7 separate regions of the Homo sapiens genome follow, and all the other regions are linked to region 2. Evidence: promoter capture Hi-C in 16 types of primary human blood cells and fetal thymus (Javierre and others, 2016). All regions are on one chromosome and are shown on one strand. Each heading gives the region's core, a stretch centred on a gene start or on the middle of the fragment in contact. The rest is flanking DNA. Distances are from core to core; before and after follow the strand shown.

Region 1 (3,576 bases), core at 897-3,396, 690 kb after region 2:
CTTCTAAGACAAAACCCCTCACTGAGAGACAATTTGGAGTAAAATCCAAATTGATCACAGGACAGAAACAGTAGTGACAAAGGAAAGAAAAAGTTTAGATAAAAGAGGGTAGAGAAGCAGAGGAGGTAGCACTACTTCATATATATTTTTATCACTTTGAGAAAACAGCCGAAGAGAGAATTAGAGAACTATGAAGTTAGAAAAAAGTAAATCATGCTCCATCTCTTCTCTCTAAAGTATAAGCACATTCAACTCACTTAGAAGACGAACAACAGAAAAGATGCACCCTCAAATTTCATGCAAAGTCTTTATTAAAAAGACAGCGAGGAAGAATCAGATGGAGTATAACATCTCTGCAGATAATGAAACCCACCAGAAAGACATGCCCACAGAACGGATGTAAACTGACTCATCATTTCAAAACCAGCCAAGAGAAATTAAGAGAATGATAGATGCTATTAAAAAAAAAACAGCATAAACCAGAATCAAGGATGAGGTGATTGAGGAAAAGGAAGATTTGACAAGAGCTGTAACAGAACTCAGAAAAGTACTAGAAATAAAAGAACAAAAAAAATTTTAAAAACTGAATTAAAAGGAACACAAGAGCAAATAAACATAGTAAGCAATGTTTTAAGAGAAATCAAAGATGGAAAGGAAAAATGTCTTAAAAATCAAAAAAGATATTCCGAATATGACATTTGGGAAAGGACAAAATTGTGGCAAAAGTAAAAAAAAAAAATTAGTGTTTGCCAGGGGTTGGGGGAGTAGAAGCATAAACAGGTGGAGTGCAGAGAGTTTCAGGGCACTGAAAATACTCTGTATGATACTGTAGTGGTAAATACATGTTGTTATACCTTTGTGAAAACCCACAGAATGTTCAACACCAAGAGTGGACACCAATGTAAACTATGGACTTCAAGAGAAAAATTGTCAGTGTAGGTTCATCTGTCACAGCAAATGCACCTTTGATACCACTTTCAAAAATATGAAGTATGTTGCAGGTATATGGGAATTTTGCTGTGAACCTAAAACTGCTCCCAAAATGCTTTTTTTTAATCAAAAAGAAATGAAAAAGATAAAAAGAATTTGTGAGAAAAGTGATGGAGAATAAACAACAAAGATCTAGCATGTTAATAAGAATCCCAAACAAGTACCAAAGCACAGGAATAGAGCACAACACTAAAACTTATCATTTAAGAAAAGTTCCTGAAATAAAAATTAGCTTGAACTAGATATTGAAGACACATTCTGCATTCTGGGAAAATTGAGCCAGAAAACTGGCACTGAGACATATAACAGTAAAACTTATAGACTGCAAAAGAAAAGAAAAAACGTTTTTGACATTCAAGCAAAAAGACAAAGTCACTTACAAGGGGGTAATATCAGATTGCCTTCAGACTTTTATAAAATAGCACTTCATGCTAGAAGACAATGAAATAACACATGCATGATATTCAAAGACAAAAAATATGAGCCACAGATTTTATGTCCAACCAAACTGGCCTTGAGGTAGAAAGGCTGCAGATAAACAGTTATAAACATGCAAAAACTCAGGAGTATTGTTTTCATGAGCCCTTCCTGAGCAATCTACAAGAGGAGAACCTCAGAAGACCAGAAAGACCGGGAAAATATTGACATAAGGCCAAGTACTCTGCTCACTGAAAAAGCTCAGAACAATAACTCAGCAGCAATGAGTGCCCATAGCACCCAGGTTGTAGTCTCTAAATACAATTTTACATTTAAAGGAACCAAGATGAACCCAAAACATTTTGTTTTGCCAGAAAGCAAGGGAATTATCAAAGACACTGAGATTATGTCAGTAGAAAATAGAATCCAATTTGAATGCACTTCCACTGGCCAAAGATGGGAGAATTTGAGCACCACAAAGAAAAATAACTGCAATTGCATGTACTAAGTCAAATATATTTTTAATGTTCATCATTACAGCTTATTCCAAAAATTGTCAAAGGGAAAGAATCAAGCAGTTATGCTGACTTTCATATACAAAAACTAGATTTCAGAGTAACCTAAACAATTGAGGAAGGAAAGTTATTTTTCTTTCCTTCTGTGGAGTCAGGATCTCACTATGTTGCCCAGGCTGGTCTTGAACTTCTGGGATCAAGCAATACTCCCACCTCTGCCTCCCAAAGTGCTGAGATTATAGGCATGAGGCACCATTCCCAGCTGGAAACTTCTGTCTTTATAGAATAATTCCAACTAAAAAATATCTCATAGAATATTGGATCTAGGCAATCATATAAAATGGATGTCAAAACAACTAGTTGCAAAGTTGATGAGGAGGGGGCAGAGCTAGATAGCCAAATAGAAGCCTCCAGTGATTGTTGCCCCACCACACACACACACAAGAATGCAAAATTGAACAACTACCCACACACAAAATCACCTTCATAAGAACCAAAAATCAAGTAAGCAATCACAGTACTGGTTTTAACATCATATTAAGGAAAGAGACACTGAAGAGGGTAGGAAAGACAGTCTTGAGTTGCCCACACCACTCCTCCCCTATCCCTCAGCAGCAGCTGCATGGCAAGAAGAGAGAATCTGTGTGCTTGTGGTGGGGAGAGTGCAGTGATTGTGGGACTTTGCATTGGAGCTCAGTGCTGCCCTGTCATAGCAGAAAGCAACTCAGGGCAGAACCCAGCTGACACCCATGAAGGGGTTTAGACCAGCCCCAGCCAGGCAAATTGTCCATCCCAGCAGTCAGAACTTGAGTTCCAGCAAGCCCTGCCACTGTGGGCTAAAGTGCTCTGGGGTGCTAAGTAAACTTGGAAGGCAGTCTAGGCTGCATGGACTGCAATTCCTGGGCAAGTCCTGGTGCTGTGCTGGACTCGGAGCCAGTGGACTTGGAGTGCATGCAACCTAGTAAGGTATCAGCGGAGGCAGCCAAGAGAGTGCTCACATCATTCCTCCTGTAACCCCATGCAGTGCAGCTTGCAGCTCCAGGAGAGACCCTCTCTCTCTTCTTGAGGAGAGGAGACATGAGAGTAAAGAGGATTTTGTCTTGCAATGTGAATACCAGCTCAGCCATAGTAGAATAGGGCACTAGGCAGAGTCATGAGGCCCCCATTCCAAGCCCTAGTTCCCAGATGACATTCTAAATAACCCCTGGGCCAAAAGGGAACCTGCTGTCTTGAAGAGAAAGATTCAGTCCTGGCAGAATTAATCACCTGCTGACTAAGAGCCCCTGGGCCCTGAATAATAAGTAGTGGTAGCCTGGCAGTGCTCACCAAGGGCCTTGGGCAAGACTCAGAGCTGTGCTGGCTTCAAGTGTGACCCAGCACATTCCCAGCTATGATGGCTATGGAGAGAGACTCCTTCTGTTTGAGGAAAGGAGAGGGAAGAGTAAAGGGGACTTTGTCTTGCCCCTTGGGCACTAGCTCGGCCACAGGTGGGTGGAGCACCAAGTGAGCTCCTGAGTACCCAGTCGTAGCCCTTGGCTCCTGGACAGTATTTCTGGACCTCCCCTGGGCCAGAGGGAAGCCTACTGCCCTGAAGGGAGAGACTCAGGACAGACAGCATTCCCCACAGGCTGACTGAAGAGCCCTTGGGCCTTGA
Region 2 (3,628 bases), core at 237-2,736:
GTTTAGAAAGGACAGGTGGGGGTCTAAAACAATCTTACAGAAGTAAAGCAGGCAAAAAGTTAAAAGGATAAATGGTTACGGGAAAGCAAACAGTTCCAGGTGCAGGGGCTTAAAATCTATCACAAGGTGATAGACACGGGGCTTTGGGCGTTATCAACCGGACACAAACGCCGGGGCTCTGGGTGCTATTAACCGGGCGAATTCCTGGGAACTGCGGATATAGCTTGCCACAGTATCTTATCAGTTAATTGCATTCTTGGATGTGCTGGGAGTCAGCTTGCACAAATTAAGTCCTTGAGGAAGCGGGGTGGGTAAGGGGCTGCAAATGAAAGAGCCAAGATGGAGTCTGTCTGGCTCTCTTAGCTAAGGGAGAGTCAATTCAGGTTAAAACAAGGTAGGGTATCACAAGCCCACTTAACAAGGGCAGCAGGACCCCAAGAAGAAAAGCTTTAGGAGTCTCCACAGTGGGCCCAGGGCAGTTCCACACAGGTCTCTGAGGCCCCACAGACAGGAGAGCTGTGACGACTCCCTTAGTGCCCAAGAAAGCAAGGAGGTGGTGGGCAAGGGGCTCCCAGAGGCCTTGGGGCACTAGAGGGGAGATGGAGCCGAGGGAGTGGCTCTGCAGGCCCCTCTCTGAGAGAGTGCATGAGGTGTGGCCCCAGGCCCAAGGGTAGGGGGTGCACAGGGTGAGGGAAGGGAGGAGAGGAAGAGGAGGAGGAGGTGGTGGCCACAGCGGGATGGCACTCAGCCAGGTTCAGCTTCGTGGGAAAGGTCCCAGGTGGGCCGGGCTAGCACTGGGGATGCCCTGGCTCTGTGTCTCGGTTGGGTGGCTGACTCCTCCTGGAACGCATCCCTGACATCCTCCAGGCTGGCTTGGGGATACTCTGGGGACACACAGTGCCCAGGCTTCCGGCCTCCCAGCCCTGGCTCCCTGTGGACTCAGCTGCCCCCAACAAGCCTGCGAGCCACTGGAGAGCAAGGGCAGGCTGTCCTTGCCATCCAGATGCCTGGCACAGAAGGGGTTCTCACCTTCGGGGTATGGGCTGACTCAGTGGGTTTCTCCTCCCTCCAGCTCTAACCTGCCTGTGGAATAAACAAATCACTCCTCTGGGTTGTCTAGCTGGTGCAGGCCCCAGGGCGACGCCCCTTTGAGGGGAAAATGGGGGCATTCCAGTTTCCATGAGCCCTGGGACTCCCCTCCTTCCCACCACTGCTGCCTACCCTCCGGTTCCAGGTATGCAGGCTTCCTCCCTTCTGACGGTTCCTGCTGCTGGAGTCGTCCTTCCTGAAACCCTGCCTTTGCTTAGCCTCATTCCCATCTCTCAGTCCCATCCTGCAGCTGGGCAGGCAGTGCTGGGCCCCGGAAATGCCCTCTGCCTCCCTGGAGCACGTGGCCTGTGATTTTCCTTGAGCACAGCACTTTGTGACTTTGATGTAAACATCAAACACAGCCCCCTTTCCTGTCTTCGCATCCAGGAAATAGGTTAGTTTCAGACAAGCCTGCTTGCCGGAGCTCAGCAGACACCAGGCCTTCCGGGCAGGCCTGGCCCACCGTGGGCCTCAGAGCTGCTGCTGGGGCATTCAGGTAAGCGGCTGTCCTCGGGCCTTCTGCCTGTGTCCTGCCACCAGGGCCACCCCAGGGGGCTCTGGGAGACCTGGCAGAGGATGAACCCCCCCCATCCATGAGTGAGAAACCCTGGCGGGGTGTGACATCCTCCCCCGGGGTGTGTGCGGAGAGTGTGAGCGGCAGGGCCTCCCTCTCAGGCTGGGGGCTTGGGCTGCAGGGAAATCCAAACCGGCTTTGTAAGCCCCGATTCCTCACCCAGAACCGGCTCTCCATTGGCATTGGGACCAGAGACCCCGCAAGTGGCCTGTTTGCCTGGACATCCACCTGTACGTCCCCAGGTAAGTGGTGCCTGGGTGGAGTGGCACCTGGCCACCGTCTCCATGGTGGGCTGTGTCTGGAGGAGGAAGACAGAATATTAACTGGGAGTCAGGAGGTTGCTGGGAGGACCAGGAGAGCTGGAGGACTGGGCTGGGTGGTGACTGGCTGGAGATGGAGGCAGACGGGGCTTGTGGCCACGCTGAGGGAAGCAGCTCCCCCTCCAGAGGCTTGGCCGAGCGGGGCTGTTCAGGGGACACGGTGAGGCCTGCTCAGTCCCTGGGCTCCTGCTGGGCCCTGTTTGGCTGCATCCTTGGCTCTCGGAGGCAGAGAAACCTCCAGAGAAAGCGCATGTGCACTCTGTGAAGATGAGGGGGCTGCTCACCAGGGCCGTGAGCTCCATCAGCAGAATGCTGTGATTCCTGTGAGGAGTCCAGGGCAGGCTTGAGCCACTTGTAGGCGAGCTCAGGTTAGAGGAAGACCTGGAGAGAGAAAGAGCAAAACACCGAGTTCTCCTCAACTGCTGTGTGTTCTCGGCAAGTTGCTTGGCCTCTCTGACCTCAGTTTGTGCATCTGTTAAATGCACATGCAGATATGGGCACCTGGCAGGCGCCTGGTTCCTGACTGTTGGCGAGAGGCTGGGAAATGTGTCCCAGGTAGGAAGCATCCCCGACAGGAAGGAACAGGAGTTCATGAGGTGAGCAGCTCGAGATGATTCATTACTCTCGTCTTGGTTGGAACAGTAGGCAGACAGGAGGTGTTTAATAATGCCTTGCTGAGAGATCAGGGTCAGGGACTCCTAAGGTGCCACCTGTGAAGCTGCCTCCTGCTGAATCCAGAGCTTCCTTTTCCTCTTCACACCTGCCCTCCATCCTCAGCCCCACTGCCCTGGCAGTGTTGCGGGGGTGGTGTTGATGTGCACACTCTGGAGCCTGGGGGCCTGGCTTCACATTCTGGCTCTGCCACTCACCAGCTGTGTGACTGGACCAGTCACCGCATCTCTCTGTGCTTCCCTCCCAGGGCTCTCGGGAGGATAAAGAGAGTGACTGTATCCACACTGCCCGGCACATACAGGTGCTGCAGAAAGGTCTCACTAAAACCCTCATTATCCTCACTAGCTCTGGGTGGCCTCGGGCTCTGGACTCCACAGTTCCTGTATGCTCTCCGGGGCTGCAGCACCCAGACCACCCCGTGCTGACCACTCCCTGCCCCACCCCAAGGTACAGGGTTAAGGCAGCCATTCTCATCAGAGCCAATTTTACCTCCTCCCGTCTCCCTGGGACAGTTGATAGTGCCTGGAGACAGTTTGGGTTGTGACCCAGCGGGTGTTACTGGCATCCAGCATGTCCAGGACAGGAATCCTGTGAACAGCCTACAAGGCCCAGGACAGTCCCACCCTGTTCCATTGTCTCTATCAGCCCCTATCCTCCTGACTCACACCGCCTTTTCCCATCTCCCTTTTACAGTCACAGAGCCTGAGGCCCAGAGAGGGACCGCTGCTTGCTGAGGTCACACAGGCAGTGGAGGCCGGAGTTGGGGGCCTCACTGGAGGGGCGGTGGAAGGGCATTGTTCAATCAACAGACACTTGGAGAGTGTGCTGGGTTGGGGAATCTGACCCTGACCCCGCACCAGCCCAGCTCTCCAGGGTCTCCTAATAGACATTTGCTGGAGTGGTTAGTGCTGGCTGCTGCATTGGACAGACCTGAGTTCAAATCCTGGTGGCCCCTTGCAGGCTGCATGTTCTG
Region 3 (3,228 bases), core at 195-2,694, 710 kb after region 2:
CTGGCACAGAGTGGGCACTCAAACATATTTACTTAATTGAATTAAATTGTAGAGGAATTTGGGCTTTATGCCAGGACTCATCAGCAAGAAGAAGTGTGCTAAGGTAAAGCAATCAGCTAAACCACCAGCTCATAATCCCAGAATCACAAAAATTCACCCAGGGAGTCATTTAAAAATTCCAGTGCTTAGGACCCCGTCTTCAGAGATGCTGATTTAATTAGCCTGGGGTGAAGACTGGACAACCAACATGTTAAAAATATTTCTAAGTGATCCCAATATGCAGCCAGGTTAGGGAAACACTGAATTCAGTGAAACTGTGTCGTTGCCTTCTATGTGTCAGGCATCGAACTCTGAGCAAGGCACTGAAAGTACAGAGCTGACTGAGACCAGGTTTCTGCCCTCAGCAAACTAATAGGGGAAATAGGTCCACACGTGACTCCAAAGCAAAAAAGCGCTACAGTATACTTATGAAAACTGTTTTGGGAATACAGATGAGGAAGGAACTGATTCAGCCTGAAGGAAGTGGGAGGAAAAAAGGCCAGTGACCAAGAGTGAAGACATTTGGATTTTAAAGGATGGCTGGGGGTTGCCAGGCAGATATGTTCTGTTCTTCCAAATCTCTGTTCTTCCCCATTATTGGCCAGGTAAATAATGCTTGACCAGGACTCAGGCTCCCAAATTCTGTACTAGCTGCCTCCTGCTGCCACAGGTTTATGACAAAGATCTGTCCACAGGGAATAAGGTCAATCCAATGAATATCCTTTTTTACCAGCTGGGGATATTTGTAAGGCCATGTACACGCTGTTAGTGTGCTGTCTGAGTCAGAGTGCAGTCAGGAAAACAGCCCACATCAGATATTCGATACAGTGAAATTAATGGGGAACTAATTATTTGATAGAGTTGCTGAAAATCCAAACAAAGAATCATAAAGCAACACAGATATTAGCAAATGCAGCATGCCCAAAAGCTCAAGGGATGCAAGGAGGTGATGGGATTAATAAAACCCAGGGGTCAGAGATGTCTGACAGGAGCTGGAATCACAACAGAGACTGCAGAGAGGGAGCTGGACTGACCAAGGAGATGGAGCCATTTCCAATAACACGAGAATGACACCCAAGGGGGAGGCCAGAGGGAGACAGCTGCCTTTCCCTTCCTTCTGCTCCACAGTCTCCCATTAATGCATCCCATTGGCTAAATCCAGCCAGAAGACAGTTGACAAAGAAGCCTAGGTGATATAGTTTTCAGGAGTTGGCCTCTGAAGGGTAGGGAGTGAATCTGGGTGTTTGTAAGCTTAACTCATGTATTCTAGATATCTGGCTGAAGGCTTACACCAAAAGTGGACTGAGTAATTTCCTTGTCCCTCTCCCCTACACCTAAAACTTTATCTTGGCCCAGAGTAGAACTTATCATCTGGTGTACTGGAGACACTTGGGTCAGAATCCCCAAGCAGGGCACCTCAAGCTACAAGTGGATTTTTTCATTTACCCTAGGATGCTAGACAAATATATATGATCTGTGTGCCACGGAGTAAACACATTTCAGAAGCAATACTATAAGAACAGGCAAAGAAAGAGGGATTAGAGGAAACTCACATCTAGGAAGCTTCTCCTTGAGCAGAGTGAGCGTCAACCGCCCAAAGTGAGGAGTTCCAAGATGAGGCAGTTCCAGACTCAACCAATAGTACTAGCAAAAAGAAAAGCAATCAAAGAAGACAGCCACTATCGAAGGAGAGAAATGTGATTAAAATCCATTTTCTTCACATAATCCTGATGAAGGATGACTTAAAATAAAACCAAAAGTTTCCAAGCATCAGGTTTTGATATAAATAACAGGGCTCTGTAGAATGTTCTGTATCATAAACAATTGTTTCTTTCAGTTCCTATTGTCAGGCCTCTGAGCCCAAGCTAAGCCATTATATCCCCTGTGACCTGCACGTACACATCCAGATCTCCGGTTCCTGCCTTAACTGATGACATTCCACCACAAAAGAAGTGAAAATGGCCTGTTCCTGCCTTACCTGATGACATTGTCTTGTGAAATTCCTTCTCCTGGCTCATCCTGGCTCAAAAGCTCCCCCACTGAGTACCTTGTGACCCCCACTCTGCCTGCCAGAGAACAACCCCCCTTTGACTGTAATTTTCCTTTACCTACCCAAATCCTATAAAACGGCCCCACCCCTATCTCCCTTCGCTGTCTCTCTTTTGGGACTCAGCCCGCCTGCACCCAGGTGAAATAAACAGCCATGTTGCTCACACAAAGCCTGTATGGTGGTCTCTTCACACGGACGCGCATGAAACCTATACCCACAGAAACAAAGTGTGACACACACATGGGGAAAAAAACAGGCAATGGAAACTGCCTAGGAGAGGGCCCAGATTGAATTGAACAGACAAAGACTTTAAGTCTATCATTACAAATGTGTTCAAAGAACTAAAGCAAACCAGGCTTAAAGAAGTAAAAAAAGGATTATGACAATGTTTCATCAAGCGGACAATATCAATAAAGAGACTTTATTTTAAAAAAATTAAAATTCTGGCATTAAAAAGTACAGTAATTGACATGAAAAAAATCACTAAAAGGGCTCAACTATAGATGTGAATTGGCAGAAGAAAAGAACAGCATAATTGAAGATAGGTCAATAGAGAGTATGAAATCCAAAACAGAGAATAAAGAATGAAGAAAAAGAAACACAATCTTTAAGAAATGTGGAACACCATTAAACATATCAACATACACTTAATTGGAGTAACAGAAGGAGAGGAGAGAAAGGAGCAGAAAAATTCTACCCATCCAAGATCAACCAACTCTAAGTAGAATAAATGCAAAGAGATCCCCATGTACAAATGCATCACAGTAAAAATGCTGAAAATGAAAGACAAAAGGAAAATTTTGAAAGTGGCAAGAGAAAATGACTTGTCACATACAAAGAAACCCTAATAAGAATGACATCTGATTTCTTATAATAAATTATGGAGGACAGGAGGCTATGGGATAGCATATTCAAAGTGCCCCCCCACCAAACAGCCAAGACTCATATCCAGAAAAACTATCTTTCAAAAATAAAGGTGAAATAGCCAGATGCAGTGGCTCACATCTGTAATCCCAGCACTTTGGGAGGCTGAGGTAGGTGGATCATCTGAGGTCAGGAGTTCTAGACCAGCCTGGCCAACACAGTGAAACCCCATCTCTACAAAAAATACAAAAAATTAGCCGGACATGGTGGTGCAT
Region 4 (3,686 bases), core at 871-3,370, 820 kb after region 2:
CTGTGAGACCATTGTCATATATGTGGTTTATCATTGACTGTAAATGAACAATGGCTCACTTAAGAAAAAAAAAAGAGCTTTGTTTACTTTGCCATAGAATTCTAATTTTCTTCCAGCATCCATCCATCCACCTGCCAAGACACGTGGAGCACCATATGCTCAGAGTCAGCCACAGCAGTCACAGGATGCAAGCATGGGTAGCTCTGTCTTAGATTTCGTAGACTCTGTGGCTCCTTCACTCAATTGGTTAGAGTTGGAATAGTTACCGAGGTCGGACTTGAAGGGTTGGACCTATATGAGATTTCTGGCTTTGTGTTCCACTCCATGGACATGGGAAGCCCCCGTCAGCGCAGCCTTTCACTGAAGTTATGACATTGCTGTCTTGGAGGGTGGCGGGGAGGGGGCGTGAAAAGAGATTGTTTCAAATTTAAAAAATCACTTCCCTGTGACAACTGACGATGTGATCGTCTCATCTCTTTGAATGTCATTTACTCTTTGTGCTTTCTTTGAATGTGTTTGGAACAGAAAACTAATCAGAGTCTGGTTTTAAAGGATTCATTTCTTTCCCGTGTTGATTCTGTAGCTTGCAGTGAGCTGCATACTCCATCGCTAGATCGAAAGCCAAATAGTTTTGTTGCGGTGAGTGTCACCACCCCTCCTCAGGCATTCTGGACGAAGCATGCACAGACGGAGATCATTGAGGTGGGTGCTGGTGGTCTCTCTCTGAGGGGCTGTGGGACATGCTCTAGTGGTGTCTCTTGTCCTGATGTTCAGTTACTTGTGCATCTGTAGCTGAAGCTGTATTTACGTGAGTTGTTGCTATTTTCCCATGGGTTTTCAGTACATTGATATTTTTCATCACATTTACTCATCTGGGTGGCATTTATATTGCCATATCCTTTACAGTTATTGATTAACTGTTGGCAGCTTGTTTTTGAACAATGATCCTGTAAGCTTCATTGCCTTGTAAGAGGTAAGACCTAATTCCTTCTTGTCACCTCCAATTGGCTGCTACTTTGCAAGAGTGGTGCTCATTAATCAAAGCTTAGAAGAGTATTAACTATTTACCACCCTCTTGTCCAGACATACCCCTATTTTTGTTGGTTTTTGTTTTTACAGCCTTTTGAGTTTTGTGTCACATGTTAACTTTTCCCACTAAGTTACATGATAAACATTTGTGGATAAACATTTATGGATGATCCTTTTAGATCATCAAGCACATTACATAACACTAAGTGTAGGAGTTGGTGGCATGAGATTCTGCAGAGTTTTATTTGTAAAGTGAAGAATTATCAAACTTAAACTGCATTTCTTCTTCTTCACCAGTTGTGCATTTTGGAAGCTAGCCCACCCTTTCAGTCTCTTAGAAACTTATTTCCAAGTTCACGTCAACAATTCTGCTTTCTAAGCAGTTGTCGAGTGCTACCTACACATCTAGCATAGTGCCAGGCACTGTGGATGATACAGAGCCCACCAGGGCACAGTCCCTGCCCTGAGGAATTGACCAGCTGGTGGGTGGGGAGGCAGAAATGAATATGGCTACCCGTGTGCACAGCAGAGTATGGGAAGTATTGGAGTAGGAAGGTAAGGAGAGCACCAGGAGGCTGGGATCCTATCTGGCTGTGAGAGTCAGAGCAGGCTTCCTAGGGTGGGGCTTCATGAAATTCTACTTCAGTATGTCTGGGGTAGGGCCCAAGACTGCATTTCTTACAAGCTCCCAAGTGATGCCCAGGTAGCCAGTCGGGGGACTCCACATGAAGAGCACGCCAAAGTTCTGTTGTGGCTATGCAAATGTGTGACCACAGGGAAGGATCATGCAGGTTTGGGGTCTAACTGTATCCTGGTCAGTGTGTGAAAGGCACAAGTAGGAGAGCAAGGAAAGAAAGCCTTGAAGGCCGTGGAGTTTATCAGCAGATGGTAGTGAGCCAGTGTAGGCTTCTGTGCAGGGGAGTCACCTGACCAGATGTCCTAACTTGTATAGGACAGGCATTTGGGGGAGTGAGAGTTGGAGGGAGTGGAAAGAAAGGAGCGTATGACAGAGACTTTGAAGGTGGACCTTGCAAGGGGAGTTCATGATCACTGGATGGTTGAGAACAACAGAGAAGAAGGCACCAAAGTGAATGCCCGGGCTTTTAGCCTGCTTGGAAAGGGAGTCAGAGGTGGCCTTAGCCAAGGGCAGGTGGAGGGAGAGATGAGTTGGTTGAGGCCCCAGCAGCCCACCCAGGTGGAGCTGTCCAGTCAGCTTGACCACCTGGATCTGGATCTCCAGAGAGAAAAAGGAGCCAGAGGCCCAGGGAATGGTGGCTGTGATAATTACCTGGTGCCTGAGAGAGTATGGTATTACGGGGCTTTGGAGGACATGGCCAGGCTGCCAGGAAATAGTCACCTATGATCAAAAAACTAGTAGCTGATCCTAAAAAAAGGATAGCTTTTGAAAAGTCAGGCTTTAATTATTCCAAACACAGGCTTCTAGAAATACATAATAAACCACTTAAGCCATTCATTTTCTCTCTTTCATCTGCTTATTTGTACCTCTTAAAGGAATAACTCAAAGTAGTAGGTTTACATACACATTACACTTTAAGTTATAAAACTAAGAATGCATGTGGACATCCAACTTGTTTCAGTTTTTAAAAATTCCTCCTGTTGAGTGTGAAACCCATGAAATGAGTCCTCAGGCACAGCTTGTGTAATGGGCTGATTTATTGTATGTGGATCTGTAATGGTCTATGTCAGACTTCTTTTTTCTCTTTTAAAAAGCAGAGTTTTTTTGTTTGTTTGTTTTATGTATTTATTTAAGCCGCCTTTAGCATTTGTGTTGATTCAAGGCAGTGAGAATGTTAGTTTCTCATTCTGAAAATGTTGGTGTATTTCAAAAGCAATTACATTTTAAAAATCCAACCCTGTGTTCTGATTATTTCCTTTTCTGTTCTAGGGAACCAACAATCCTATATTTCTAAGCAGTATTGCCTTCTTTCAAGACTCTCTTATCAATCAGATGACACAAGTCAAACTCTCCGTGTATGATGTCAAAGATAGATCTCAGGGAACAGTTAAGTAATGTGTTGTAGTTCGTGGGATTTTCTTCCCTTTGAAAAAATTATATAATCGTTTGAATGAGAGATGAACACAGATTGACTTCACTACTGGCTCACAAGTTAACTCATGTCTAAATGCATTTGTCTTTGCGAATTGTTAAGCTTTCCCATTGGGCTTCTGACATAAGGGTAAGAGGTGTTGTGGGAAGCAGTCAGCTGGACTCTCTGGGGCCATGGTAATTGCATCAGAAGCAAAGCAAGCGCACCAATGCTGCCTCTCTTCCTTCTCTTCCTCAGATGTATTTACTGGGCTCTGGAACGTTCATTGTCAAAGATCTGCTCCAGGACAGGCATCATAGGTTGCATTTAACACTAAGGTTGGTATTCAGTTTTATTCCCTTGAAAGGATCTGGAATCATGAGGTCCAGGGACAGATGGGGAAAGGACCCACTTCTTATACTGAGAGAGCACCCTTCCCTTCCCAGAAGCCAGTCAGCGTGGGGACACTGTGTTGTCTATTGAGGCGAAACAAATTACTTAGCCTATCAGAGAATGGAAACTTTTAGCATCCATAGGAGATATGAGCACAGCTGTACCAAGCCCTAAAGGAAGGCCTAGATACATATCTAGTAATACTAAGTGTGTTTC
Region 5 (3,660 bases), core at 265-2,764, 880 kb after region 2:
GACTATTGAGAAACAGTTGAAATTTATTCTCCTCAAATGAGATTTTGAAAGGGATTTATGGGCCATAAAACTTAGGAATTTCATAGAAAATTTTGTCTGGTCATCTTTTATAAGATGATGATGAGTCTTATCTGCACATAGCAGAGTTTGTTTCTTAGGAGTTTATATGTTTTATTGATTCTGTTTACGATGTTTACATGTTCTTGAAAAGGTTGTAAAAGAAATACATATGGCACATATTAATGATGCTGATCCTAATGATTTGTGAACCTCTTAGAAATTCTTTTGTCTAAAAGCCTAGAGATTCTTCTGGTTCCTTTAGAAACATGTAACAAACTTGGGCCAGGGGTGCTGAGGCATGGGGAGGACTGCTTATTGGCAGGAACACAGAGGGGGTGGGCATCAGGTAGGGTGGAACTGGATGACCTTCCAGACCCCCTCCTACTCAGAAGTCAGCATGCAAGCAGCGCCTGCTGTCTCCCGATGCCTGCAGGGAGGAAAATGTCTGTGAAGGACACTTTAATGAAGGACGAAGCTCTCTGCTGCTCCCTCAAAGCTGAGTTCACTGTGGCAGGCAGGAAGCAGAGAAGCTCCTGCCCGCCAAACCCACTGCACAGGTGGCTGCTGCTGGTATCAGATTCTCCTTTTTAAGTGTCAATTTCTGTTCACAGACAGTTTGTTTTCAATATGGCTGATTTACCCTTTCACCTCTCCACCATCTCATTTAATTTGTAAATTTTTAGTTCTGTCTTTTCTCATTTTAACTTTTAAAAAATCTCCTTGCTTTTTAAAAATAAATATTACCCACATAGTTTTCAGATCTTTTTTGTCTGGAGAGCATTAAATATCTGCACTCATCAAAGGGAATATAGCAAATGTTGATCATCTGTCAGCAGTTTTGCATGTGACACCTTTATATGAATTATTTTCCCAATTTTTGCTCTATGTAATGGGTCACCATAAAACTGTAAGACTTGGCAAATGCTATAGAAAAGGTTCAGGTTTCAGTATTCTCTCTGAAGGCATCATTCCTGGGCTTCCGGCAGCATCACACGCTTCCAGTGCCTGCAGGGTGAGGGTGTGTGGCACAGAGGCAAGCAGCTCCTCTCTTCTGTAGGAGCTTTGGGTTTTCAGAGGTGCAGGGAAGGCAGTTTTACAGGTTACCGTAAAACAGAGGTTCCGTCCAGTGTTCCTTATGATGCCTCCCCATTTAAAAAGAAAAGAGATCTATGGAAAACTGGGAATGTAATGTGGATTCTGTCAGAGCTCCTACAGAGCACAGTTGCCTTTAGTTTCCTTTAAAGATGTAAAAATATTGTATAATACAGTTTTGTCCCTACACAATTGTATTTGCCAAGCTTAGTGCATTATGATACCTTTATTTATTTGTTTTGGGCAGTATTACTATATATATATAAACATACAGTTACTGTTTTATATATTCTTAGGTCATTCAAAGCCATGTATGCTGTAAATGTGCTAGTCTTTAGAATGACACATAATAAATAACTGACAAGATATTAAATGTGGTCTTGCCTGATTCATCCTATTAGGAGGACTAGTTCTATGTGACCAGCCTGTGACTGGACCATTGTTCTTGGGCATTGCATTGAGTGCTCGGGTGCTGAATACATGTTTGTAAACATGGGACCATGGGAGACTTCCATTTTATAAGCTTGTTTCTGCCTAATTTGAAGCAGAGGGGCAACAGCGTTGAGGTTAAGAGCACGGACTTTGGGAGCACACAGACCAGGTCCCAATCCTGGTTCTGCCCCTGACTGGCTGGTGACTCTGAGCAAGTTGCTTGACCTCTCCAAGCCTCCGTTTCCTCATGTGCAAAGTGTGGACAACAACAGTACCTTCCTCATAAGGAACGTGCGACGCGCCTCAGAAGTACGTGTTCATAAATGGTAGCCATTGTTGTTACCTTCCCGTCTGTGAACATGGATCACATCATCTCTGTGGGTAACCCAGTCCTCGTTGTATGACTTGTCAAAATGCAGTTCCACTTGTATTAATATTGACCCTGTTCATCGTCACCAGGACTGCATCTTGCACCACTGTGCCGTCTTCTAGGCACACACGACCCGTTATCTCCCTTGGAAAAATTCCTCTCACTGGAAATGTACAATTAAAGGATGATTGAAATGTTTAACTCTTGGAGTTTTTAGTATTACCAAACTCCTAGAAATTTAAGCTACCACCAAAAATAACATGTGCCTTTTCCCTTTATTCTCATTGATGGTAGCAGTGCACCTCGTTTCAGTGTCCTGATTCCTTGATTACTGTGAACACTGAACATCTTTTATACCTTTATGATATTTCTATGTTTGTGACTTCATTGGAATGTTGATCTATTTCATATAGATTGTTTTTAATATACAATGTATTAGCCCCTGTCATATGTTGCACACTTTTTAACCTATTTGTCAGCTGTCTTTTGGTCTGTGGTAGGAGTTATACAGTATTTTAAATGGTTTATGTAGTCACATATACCTGTCTTTCATTTTGATGCTTGTTCTGAAATGGAGTCCTGGCTTCACCATGGAAGGTGGGACATATGGGACAGCCATGTCCTTGTGGGCATGGTGGTGTGGCTGCGTGCCCACGACGAGGGGCTGGACTAAAGTGCTCACTGGCACCTTGCTTGGTGCATGGGCCATGCTCAGTTTAATATTATTAACAGTTTCTACCTTCACTCTCATGTCTCAGGATTATTTTTTCAGCATTTACCTGTTCTTATTTCTAGGATGTTTATGGTTTCAGTCCTACATTTAGATCAATCCATCTGGAATCATCTTGGTGTAAGTCCTGTGTTGTGCTTACAGTATGTAAAGTCAGAGGGAATCCCTCAAGGTCAGGCCTAATTTTGCTTCTCTTTAAAGTTAAGCCAAGAAGAAGACATGTCAGGACGCCCAGACATCAGCTACCGTGAGCTTCTTCCTGCCCTCCCTCCGCATGCCATTCTGGTGCTGCGCTTCAGTTTCCTGTTGAGTCTCTGCTTAGTAGATGACTTGGCACAATCTGGCTGCCCAGATCTAGGGGAGTTGTCCCAGGGAGGCTTTGCGCTGGAGGAAGGTAAGAGGAGCTGGAGGTTGGAGCTTCCCGATTTGTGATTTTTCCAAGAACAGAAATGATTAGCCATGTGGGGAGGTTACTTCATTGTACATTGTTCTACTGCATAACCTCCCTCTATTCTTTACCAGCATCACACAGCAGGTTGGCACCATTTTTGAATAGAGGTTTCTCACAGTATCCTCAGCAGCATTGAGTGTTCCTAATGTTGTAGTAATGAGCAGTAGATGTCTCTCAGTGGGCAGTGTGACCTCTTTGGTCACTCTAAAGGGCTGCCAGCATTTCTCTTAAGCTGGGGGGAGAAGAGCTGTTCTGTGTATAGGGGTATTGGGAACACATGGACAGAAGGAACTGGCCTCACATGCCATCGTGTTCCTGGGATGGCTCTTCCAAGACCAGCAGTTCCTCCTGGCAGGCAGGCCCTCACAGAACTCTGCATTTGGAGATGGACAAACTCTCTTCTTCTTATCACTTTCTCCCCAAAATGTCCTCTTCTACCAGCCCCTCTTAAGAGCCGATTTTCTGTAAGTTATAGTGAGGGCACTGCTCTGCTGTGCACAGAAGGAACCCCAGCCCAGAAGCACA
Region 6 (3,441 bases), core at 1-2,500, 850 kb after region 2:
CGAGAGCCTGCTGAGCACCTACGGTGAGGCGCCCGGGCCAGGATCGGGAGCCCCACTTGCGTGTGTGGTTTCCATCCTTTCTTGCTAGGCACTTTTCTCACTATACCAGTAATGCGTGCTTATTGAAATAAATCCAAAATATATAACAGCAGACCAGATGGCAGACCTGGCAGTTACACACGCACACGCCTTGGTTTGTTGTTGTTGCTGGTTGAGGATGGATGCTAATTACTTAACCAGTAACTTCCTGTTGGACTTTGGGTTGTTCCTGAAACACCAGTGCAGCAGTGACATCTGTGCATGAGGCACTTGTGGGCCTGTTTCTGCAGCTACTGAATGACTGGAAGGAGAGTTGCTGGGTCAGAGGGTAGGAATATTTTTAAATTTAATAGATATTTCCAAATTGCCCTCTAAAAAGGCTCTCTTCTTCCTACCCTTGTTTATTATTTATTTATTCTGAGAAGGTGATAGAAAGCATTTGTTAATCATTGGAAATTGAGGACATCGAATAGATATCAAGCCCTGTGTAATGGGAGGGTCTGGCCACAGCAAAGCTGCTTTAGCATCTCTCATTTCGTGTTTCAAGAGCTGGCTTTGCTTTCTGAGTTTATGTATTTGTTTCCCTCCCTACTATCTGGTGCTTGCCCAAGAAATAGTGGGAAGGGATGGCGCGTGTTTCCACCAGATGCATGTTTTGATGTGGCTGTGGGATTTCAGAGGCATTGTTGACTCACAGAGGAGTGAGTTGCAGGGGAAGAGGCTCAGAGACTCCCCCTCCACCAGAGCCACACCTGCACCCCTCCTGTCACAGCCAGGCCTGGGCTTGGCTGCCTTCTGCTGAGACTGGGGAGAGTAGCAGGGCCCTCTGCCTGACAGCCCTGCCCCTCTCTCATGTCCAGGGGAGGAGCTGGCAATGCTGGAGGACATGAGCCTTGGGATCATGGACTTGAGGAACGTGACCTTCAAAGTCACTCAGGCCACTTCCAGCGCCTCCGCAGACATGCTGCCCGTCATCACAGGAAATCGGTAGAGTGTTGGTTTAAAATTCTCTGAGCCAGAGAGCGGTTTTCATTTTTGTTTATCTCAGGGAAGGTACTCTTCTGAATTTTTTATCCTATTTCATTTTGTTAAATGCTCTGATTACAGCCCCCTAGGTTAGTGCCACTCCCTTAAAGGTCTGTGGTTGGCAGTTTGGCCATCACTAAGCCAGAGGGCCAGCCTGGGCACTGCAGCCTGCTCGGTGGCCCTCTGGCCTCACACTGCTCTCCCTCTCTCCACCTTTCTCCAGCGACGGGTTTAACGTGCGGGTCCCTCTGCCGGGCCCGCTGTTTGACGCCTTGCCCCGGGAGATCCAGAGTGGCATGCTGCTGCGAGTGCAGCCCGTCCTCTTCAACGTGGGCATCAATGAGCAGCAGACACTGGCCGAGAGGTGCGTGCCGGCTCCTCGGGGCTGCGGGGGTGTGGTGGCCCTGGAGATGATGCAGAAAACGTACTTACCCCTCTTCAGGCTCTAAGTGCTGGACAGACTTTGTCATCCTTCCTTCCTTTGGCCAACATTTTCATCATGGCCGTGCACCTCACTGTCTTTGGTGCTAGGGACACAGAGTGACCCAGAGGTGGTCTCTGTCCTCAGGGACTCAGCTGGTGGGAGAGAGAGAGACATGGATGCAATGATGAAGACAGATACAGGGCATTGTGGGATCCGGAGTAGGGCACCCAGCAAGGTCTAGGGGGTCTGTAAAGGCTTCTTGGAGTTGCAGGGGATGGGGCTTTGAATTGTGAATAGGAGTTGGATGATGAGGTGGAGGGGAGACATGTCAGATTAAGAAGACTGAAGAAAGGCCTGGCGAGGAGAAACAGCATGGAGTTCAGGGGCACCAGGTTCCAGGCAGGGATTGGCAGGTAAGGGTAGACAGGCTCTGTGTGCCAGGCTGAGACTCATGCCTGAACCTAAAGGCAACTGCCCTCCAGGGTCACTTGCCACACTGCAGAGGGGAGTTGTGTGTGCCTGTGTGTGCACGTGTGCCTGTGTGCGCACATGTGTGTGAGGAGATAGGGTAGATTGGGTATATGTACCCTTTACTGGCCTTCCACTAGTACATGAGAATGATTCCTGTGTTGTCATTTATCTTCATGTGATATGTGTAGAATAGTCTAAACAGAGATCTTCAAGTACTTGCTGTGAAGGAAATTTGGTTTCCAGAACAATATGCCGTGTTCCTGCTGGGCCTTCTGATGTCCAACCCCAGTGGTTGATGTCCATTGACGCCTAGGTGTAGGGTCACACCAACTTAGGAAATATGGTATCATTGCTGGGAGACACTGAAGAACTCTCAGTGGGGCAGGACACAATCAGATTTACATTTAAAGTAGGTCGTTTCGCTGGCACGTGCCGGGAGGAGATGAAGGGGACAAGTGTGAGGAGGAGGCTGCTGGGAGGAGTCCAGGCCAGAGGTGGGAACCTGGATCAGGGCCAGGGGAGTGTTGGTGTTCTGCAGAGGGGTAGGCTGGGGAACTGTTAAAGTGGTCAGTGGAAGGGTTTGGTCTTCAGTGGGGTTGGGGCTGGGGCTGAGTGGGAGGAGAGTACACCAGACAGACCCACCCACTGAGCTCATAAACTGGCAGGAGAGTCGTGTCCAGAGGCAGGTGGTGAGCTGGGTTTGGACTGAGGGCACCAGCCCAGGAAGCAAAGCCCCAAAGGTGTGAGCAGAGCTGGAGGCGCCTATGTCAGGGAGAGGCGCAGCCTCACTGGAGCCCCAGCAGGGAGGTGGCCCAGGGGAGGGAAAATGATGGTGCCTGCATCCAGTAGCTGCGGATCCCACAGACTTGCAGGAGCAGTTTCTAGAGAGGGCTGAGCCAGAGCCAGGTGCATTGAATAGAGGGGAGGGTGGAGGATGCAACACTGAGGACAGAGAGGACTTGCAAAGGGCAGGTTCTTGACTTTGTTTCTTTATTGGCCCTGAGGTCACTGGTGAGCTGGGCTTGTTTATAAGCTGAGGGAAGAGCCCTCAGAGGGGAGGCCACAGGCCCAGAGTCAGGGATGGCCCCCAAGGGAGCAGGCGTCTAGAGAAAAGGCCATTGTGGACACCAGGGGTGGATGGGCTGGGACCCGTAGGAGGGAATCCTGCCCTCTGAGGGATGCTCTCGGGCCACAGAGAAGCTGATGCTCGGAAGGCCCCTCAGCAGGGATGTGTGAGACTGCACTGGGGCCCAGGACCTGGACTTCAGAGCCTGCATTTCCTAATGATCACCTTGTGCCTTCCTTGCAGGTGGCATTTTATGGCTTTGTTTCTTAGGCATTTGGCACATGCTCCTTGTAGCACACTGAGTGTGATCAGGGTGAACCTGCACGATGACGAAAGGGCAAGGGCTTCATGTCAGTCCCGGAGGGGCTGGCAGTCAGGTGTGTTCATTCTGCACACAGAGAGTGACTTCAGATTG
Region 7 (3,700 bases), core at 890-3,389, 790 kb after region 2:
TCCTTCTGCCAGAGGCCTGCCCACAGTGGCTCCACTGTCAGTGTCCTGGTTTGCATGTACAGAGGCAGGGCTTGAAGTTGGGTGGTAAGTGGGGGCTTGAGGTGGCTACATGTTGGTTTACAGTTTTTAGTTTTTCTATAGGTTTCTTCCAGTGGGAGATGGGAATACTTCTAAAAAATGAATTCCAAAGTCACATTTTCCCTGATCTCTTTATTTCCCAGCTACCAAGAGTGTTTTAAAAAATGTAAAAGCACACATAGAGATTTTAATTAGCTTTCACTGTCACTGCTCTTGGTGGTGGTAATTTTACATATGATATGTGACAGGGAGACACTTTGTGAGGGCCTTTGTTCTCAATGTATTCTCTCCCTCTCATAACTCAGATGTAAAATTTGGAGAAAGAGATAATGGTGAAAGTACCTCAACATTGTCTTATTTTCACATTGATATTCCTACTCGTTAGCATTTTCCATGGAAACAGCACCACAACCAGATTAGGAATCTTTCTGGAACAAAGGGAAAATAGTTCTTGTGACTTTTGTGAGCAGTCTCACTACTGCATTGTTTATGGGTGAGGTCACCAAGGAGACCTAGCTCAAAGGCAAAAGATGGCCCTGCTCTAAGGGTTTTATTAATAGACCTGAAATTGCTTGCCCTCTTGAATTACCCAAGTGGTTTTAGTTTCTTTTGTTGTTTTTGAGTTATTGGATTTTATTTTATATTTGCAGAATCAGTGCTTCCTTCAGAGATAGGGAGTTTGGACGGACTAGGTTTAGTTGTGCTGATGACAAATGGACCTTTAGAACCCCTGGAGACCTCCTGGGACAAACGAGTTGCCCTTTATGTGTTGGTCGTGAATGTTGCCTGTTCATGTGGTGGTGGGTGCCATCTTGACCCAGCTTTGCCAGGTCTGAGCAGGGGTCTGTCTTTGCTGGTGAGAAGGGATGCTCATTGCAATTCTTGTGGGCAGGTTCCTCCCTGGTTTGCCCCAAGTGAGAAAGAGATTTGTCTTCAAAAGCCCAGTAGGAGAGTCCAAGAGAGTACCAGGACTTTTGAGATTGGTTTGAACAATTGAGATCCTAGGGAGTTCTTCACTGCCTGCAAGCTAAAACCCAGCTCTGTGGTCTGGTGTTAAAGGATCTCCAGAATTGACCTCGTCCTGGCTCTCCAGCCCCATTCTCTGTCCTTGATACACAAGACTTTCCTGTTTCCTGAGTGAGTGCTTGTTGCTGGATGCACCTGTGCCTGTTCCTTTTGAAGTCAGATCAACTCGCACCTCATCTGGATCATCTTTTGCCAGATTTCAAGCTTCTTCCTTGCCTCTGTAGCAGCATGGGGCATGCATCTCATTTTGTCTTGGAGTTGTGTTATCTGAATGTTTTACTCCATCATTAAACTGTTGGATTCTTGCAGGCAGAGATCACTTCTGATTCACTTGTGTGTTCACTGTAAGTGCCTAGCTCAGTACTTGTTGAACAGATGAATGGACAGTTCCAGATTACAGACTCCTTTGGACACTCTCATCAGAAGGCATTTCAGGTCATCAAACCAGGCTTGCGTGACAGGATGACAGAGACTCCTTCTCCTGCAGGCAGGGCTCCTGTCTTCTGCCCTGGTCCCTTCCCTATTAGCCTGATCTTTGCTGCTGGTTGAGAAGAGGTGCCACATGAGAAGAAGGCAGATGTTGCTGTTGAGCATGAAGGTGCTGCGTGTCAGTTGGCACTTGTCCCTACATGGTTGAACTTACTCAACCACAGCTCTGGTGGGTAGCTACAGAGCACTGCCCAAGGAAGGGCATGGGCCTCAGAGGCACAGCTTATTGCACTCTTTTAAAAACTGCATTTCTTTTTGAGGTTTCATTATTCCAGCCACTGTCAGCTTTGCAATAAAGAGCTGTGGTCAGTTCACTGTGGAAGAGGCCCATGGAGGACTGCCAGTGGGGGTCCTCCCTCACCAAACACGGAACGCTGAACAACCAGCAACACAGCCGAGTAGCTGAAGCCATAGAACCCTCTCTCCAGGAAGGTCCTATATAAACATCAGGACTGCTTGCTGCCCTTTTGATTTGTTTTAATGAGAATAGGGAAGACTGAAGTCCTTTTGTGTCTCTGCTAAGTGTTCACCCCAACACTGAATGTTTCAAACAGGATTCCATTTTCACAGCTAAAATAAACAGGTTATACACCACTTTGCCAGAGATCTACATGTAGTAAAGTTGCTGAATGTGTGACCACTTTGTGTTTCCATGGGACCTAGAGGACCAAGATGTCTCTCCCTGATTTCAGTTTGTTGTTGAGGAAGCTAGAAACAGCATTGTAACGTTGGTGCTGCCACTTGGAGGCCTTGGGCAGGTCATCCCCAGTCTCCTGGCTTACTGCCTGGTTTCTAAAATAGCATTGTCTTCCCGGCATTTCATTGATCTGTGATGGTTGCTTCACATTTATAGCCCTTTATGGAATTTTGTTGCTACTCAGAAAATTTTTTATTTTCTCGTGAAGCCAATTTTGACACTTGCGAATTAGAAGGCAGGCTTTCCTAGTGCTTAGAAAAATAAACAGAGCCTGCCTGACTCCACTTGTCTGAAGCACGTTATTATTAACTTTCAACTTATTATCAGTTCTGCTCTTAACGTGGCGCTGTAGAAGGAAATGATGTGTGTGGTGTTAATCTTCAGTGCCTCTTCAGGCCCACGTGCCATCCTGCTGAAGGTGCAGGACTGGCAATGGCAAGGGGGATCTACAGCTTTGGCTGGCCTTGACATTCTGCATCATGTGATTGAGCAAGCCTGAGACCATCTTACCAGATTCACTCTAGGCTCTCTGTCTTTTCTTTGTTTTCCCAAAGCTCTGTTAGCATGGACTTTTGAAAGTTGCCTGAATATTAAAGTACTATACTAATAACTTGCTTTCTAGTAAACAAAACCAAAAGTTGGCTTAATGGTTGCTCACTGACCTGGCATAAACTAGAACACAAAGCTTCCCATTTAGAAAAGGTTCAGGCAGCCTCCTGCTGGGATCTGCCCAACCCCTCTAGGAGGTGGCATGGATGCCCACCTCTTCTTCCAAGGGTGCACTTTGCCTTTAGGTTTGGGGAAAAGTACTGGGCGAGCCTTTGGGACTGTTGTGTCTCATGAGTGGGCTGACCTTGGTGGAGGCTTGCGTTTCCCATGTGGGGCCTGACTTTTTATGTGTCCAGCCAGAGTGATGAGCTCGTTCACTTTCCCTGCAGTGCTTCCTTGTTGAACCTGAAAGAGAGGACGTGGGAGCTTTTGTAGGAGAGAGAGGACACATGCTTTATTCTTGAACTGTGAGGTGTATGTCACCAGAGAGAATTGGAGACAGCGGTGACTGTTTCTCAAAACAGCTTGCACACTCTTCCCTTACCAAATTAGGATTGAGTAAAACCTGTTGGTAATAGTAAATAGAAGGAAGTTACAAATAAAACACAGTAGTCATAAAAGCAGAGCAGAGGAGCCCTGCTCACAGAGCCAGCCGTCACCACAGACGCCTGGGCTTGAGTTGTGTCTTGCTGATTCAGCAGGAGGGTGCATTTCCCCTTCCACTTTCCTGTTGAAATATATTATTTCTGTACAATATTTATAGAATCCCTGTCTCCACCATTAGAAATACAGAATATTCTTGCTTTTTCACTTTGCTATTAGTTGATATTGTTGGCTAGGTTTTGTCTGTTTATCCTGTTC

Evidence for each region. Contacts are between HindIII fragments. The CHiCAGO score rates a contact against its expected background, and 5 or more counts as called.
Region 1: a fragment that was not itself captured here is called in contact with the fragment with the promoter of ZAP70 in region 2 in 8 of 17 cell types (M0 macrophages, M1 macrophages, M2 macrophages and 5 more); the score reaches 12.1 in M0 macrophages.
Region 3: a fragment that was not itself captured here is called in contact with the fragment with the promoter of ZAP70 in region 2 in 1 of 17 cell types (M1 macrophages); the score reaches 5.7 in M1 macrophages.
Region 4: a fragment that was not itself captured here is called in contact with the fragment with the promoter of ZAP70 in region 2 in 1 of 17 cell types (M2 macrophages); the score reaches 5.5 in M2 macrophages.
Region 5: a contact is called between a fragment that was not itself captured here and the fragment with the promoter of ZAP70 in region 2, in 1 of 17 cell types (M1 macrophages). The highest score is 5.4, in M1 macrophages.
Region 6: a contact is called between a fragment that was not itself captured here and the fragment with the promoter of ZAP70 in region 2, in 1 of 17 cell types (M0 macrophages). The highest score is 5.3, in M0 macrophages.
Region 7: a contact is called between a fragment that was not itself captured here and the fragment with the promoter of ZAP70 in region 2, in 1 of 17 cell types (activated CD4 T cells). The highest score is 5.0, in activated CD4 T cells.

Annotation. Positions count from the first base shown.
Region 1 is chr2:98,401,468-98,405,043 of GRCh38, forward strand. No RefSeq gene overlaps it. Among named protein-coding and RNA genes, the nearest start is that of INPP4A, 42 kb to the right of the region's middle. The HindIII fragment of the contact is 4,305 bases long and covers 1-3,576 here.
Region 2 is chr2:97,712,090-97,715,717 of GRCh38, forward strand. It overlaps ZAP70 (zeta chain of T cell receptor associated protein kinase 70), which reads left to right and starts at 1,487. Exons shown (of 14, transcript NM_001079.4): 1 at 1,487-1,585; 2 at 1,827-1,905. RefSeq lists enhancers at 1,295-2,268, 3,500-3,628. The HindIII fragment of the contact is 8,251 bases long and covers 446-3,628 here.
Region 3 is chr2:98,419,723-98,422,950 of GRCh38, forward strand. No RefSeq gene overlaps it. Among named protein-coding and RNA genes, the nearest start is that of INPP4A, 24 kb to the right of the region's middle. The HindIII fragment of the contact is 312 bases long and covers 1,289-1,600 here.
Region 4 is chr2:98,532,794-98,536,479 of GRCh38, forward strand. INPP4A (inositol polyphosphate-4-phosphatase type I A) reads left to right here. Exons shown (of 25, transcript NM_001134225.2): 5 at 584-702; 6 at 2,936-3,052; 7 at 3,336-3,415. Among named protein-coding and RNA genes, the nearest start is that of COA5, 74 kb to the right of the region's middle. The HindIII fragment of the contact is 2,156 bases long and covers 1,043-3,198 here.
Region 5 is chr2:98,588,632-98,592,291 of GRCh38, forward strand. INPP4A (inositol polyphosphate-4-phosphatase type I A) reads left to right here. Exons shown (of 25, transcript NM_001134225.2): 25 at 1-3,660. Among named protein-coding and RNA genes, the nearest start is that of COA5, 18 kb to the right of the region's middle. The HindIII fragment of the contact is 317 bases long and covers 1,357-1,673 here.
Region 6 is chr2:98,564,741-98,568,181 of GRCh38, forward strand. It overlaps INPP4A (inositol polyphosphate-4-phosphatase type I A), which reads left to right. Exons shown (of 25, transcript NM_001134225.2): 19 at 1-23; 20 at 900-1,026; 21 at 1,289-1,429. Among named protein-coding and RNA genes, the nearest start is that of COA5, 42 kb to the right of the region's middle. The HindIII fragment of the contact is 5,676 bases long and covers 1-3,441 here.
Region 7 is chr2:98,502,207-98,505,906 of GRCh38, forward strand. The region is part of intron 1 of INPP4A (inositol polyphosphate-4-phosphatase type I A); the gene reads left to right. Among named protein-coding and RNA genes, the nearest start is that of INPP4A, 59 kb to the left of the region's middle. The HindIII fragment of the contact is 1,667 bases long and covers 1,307-2,973 here.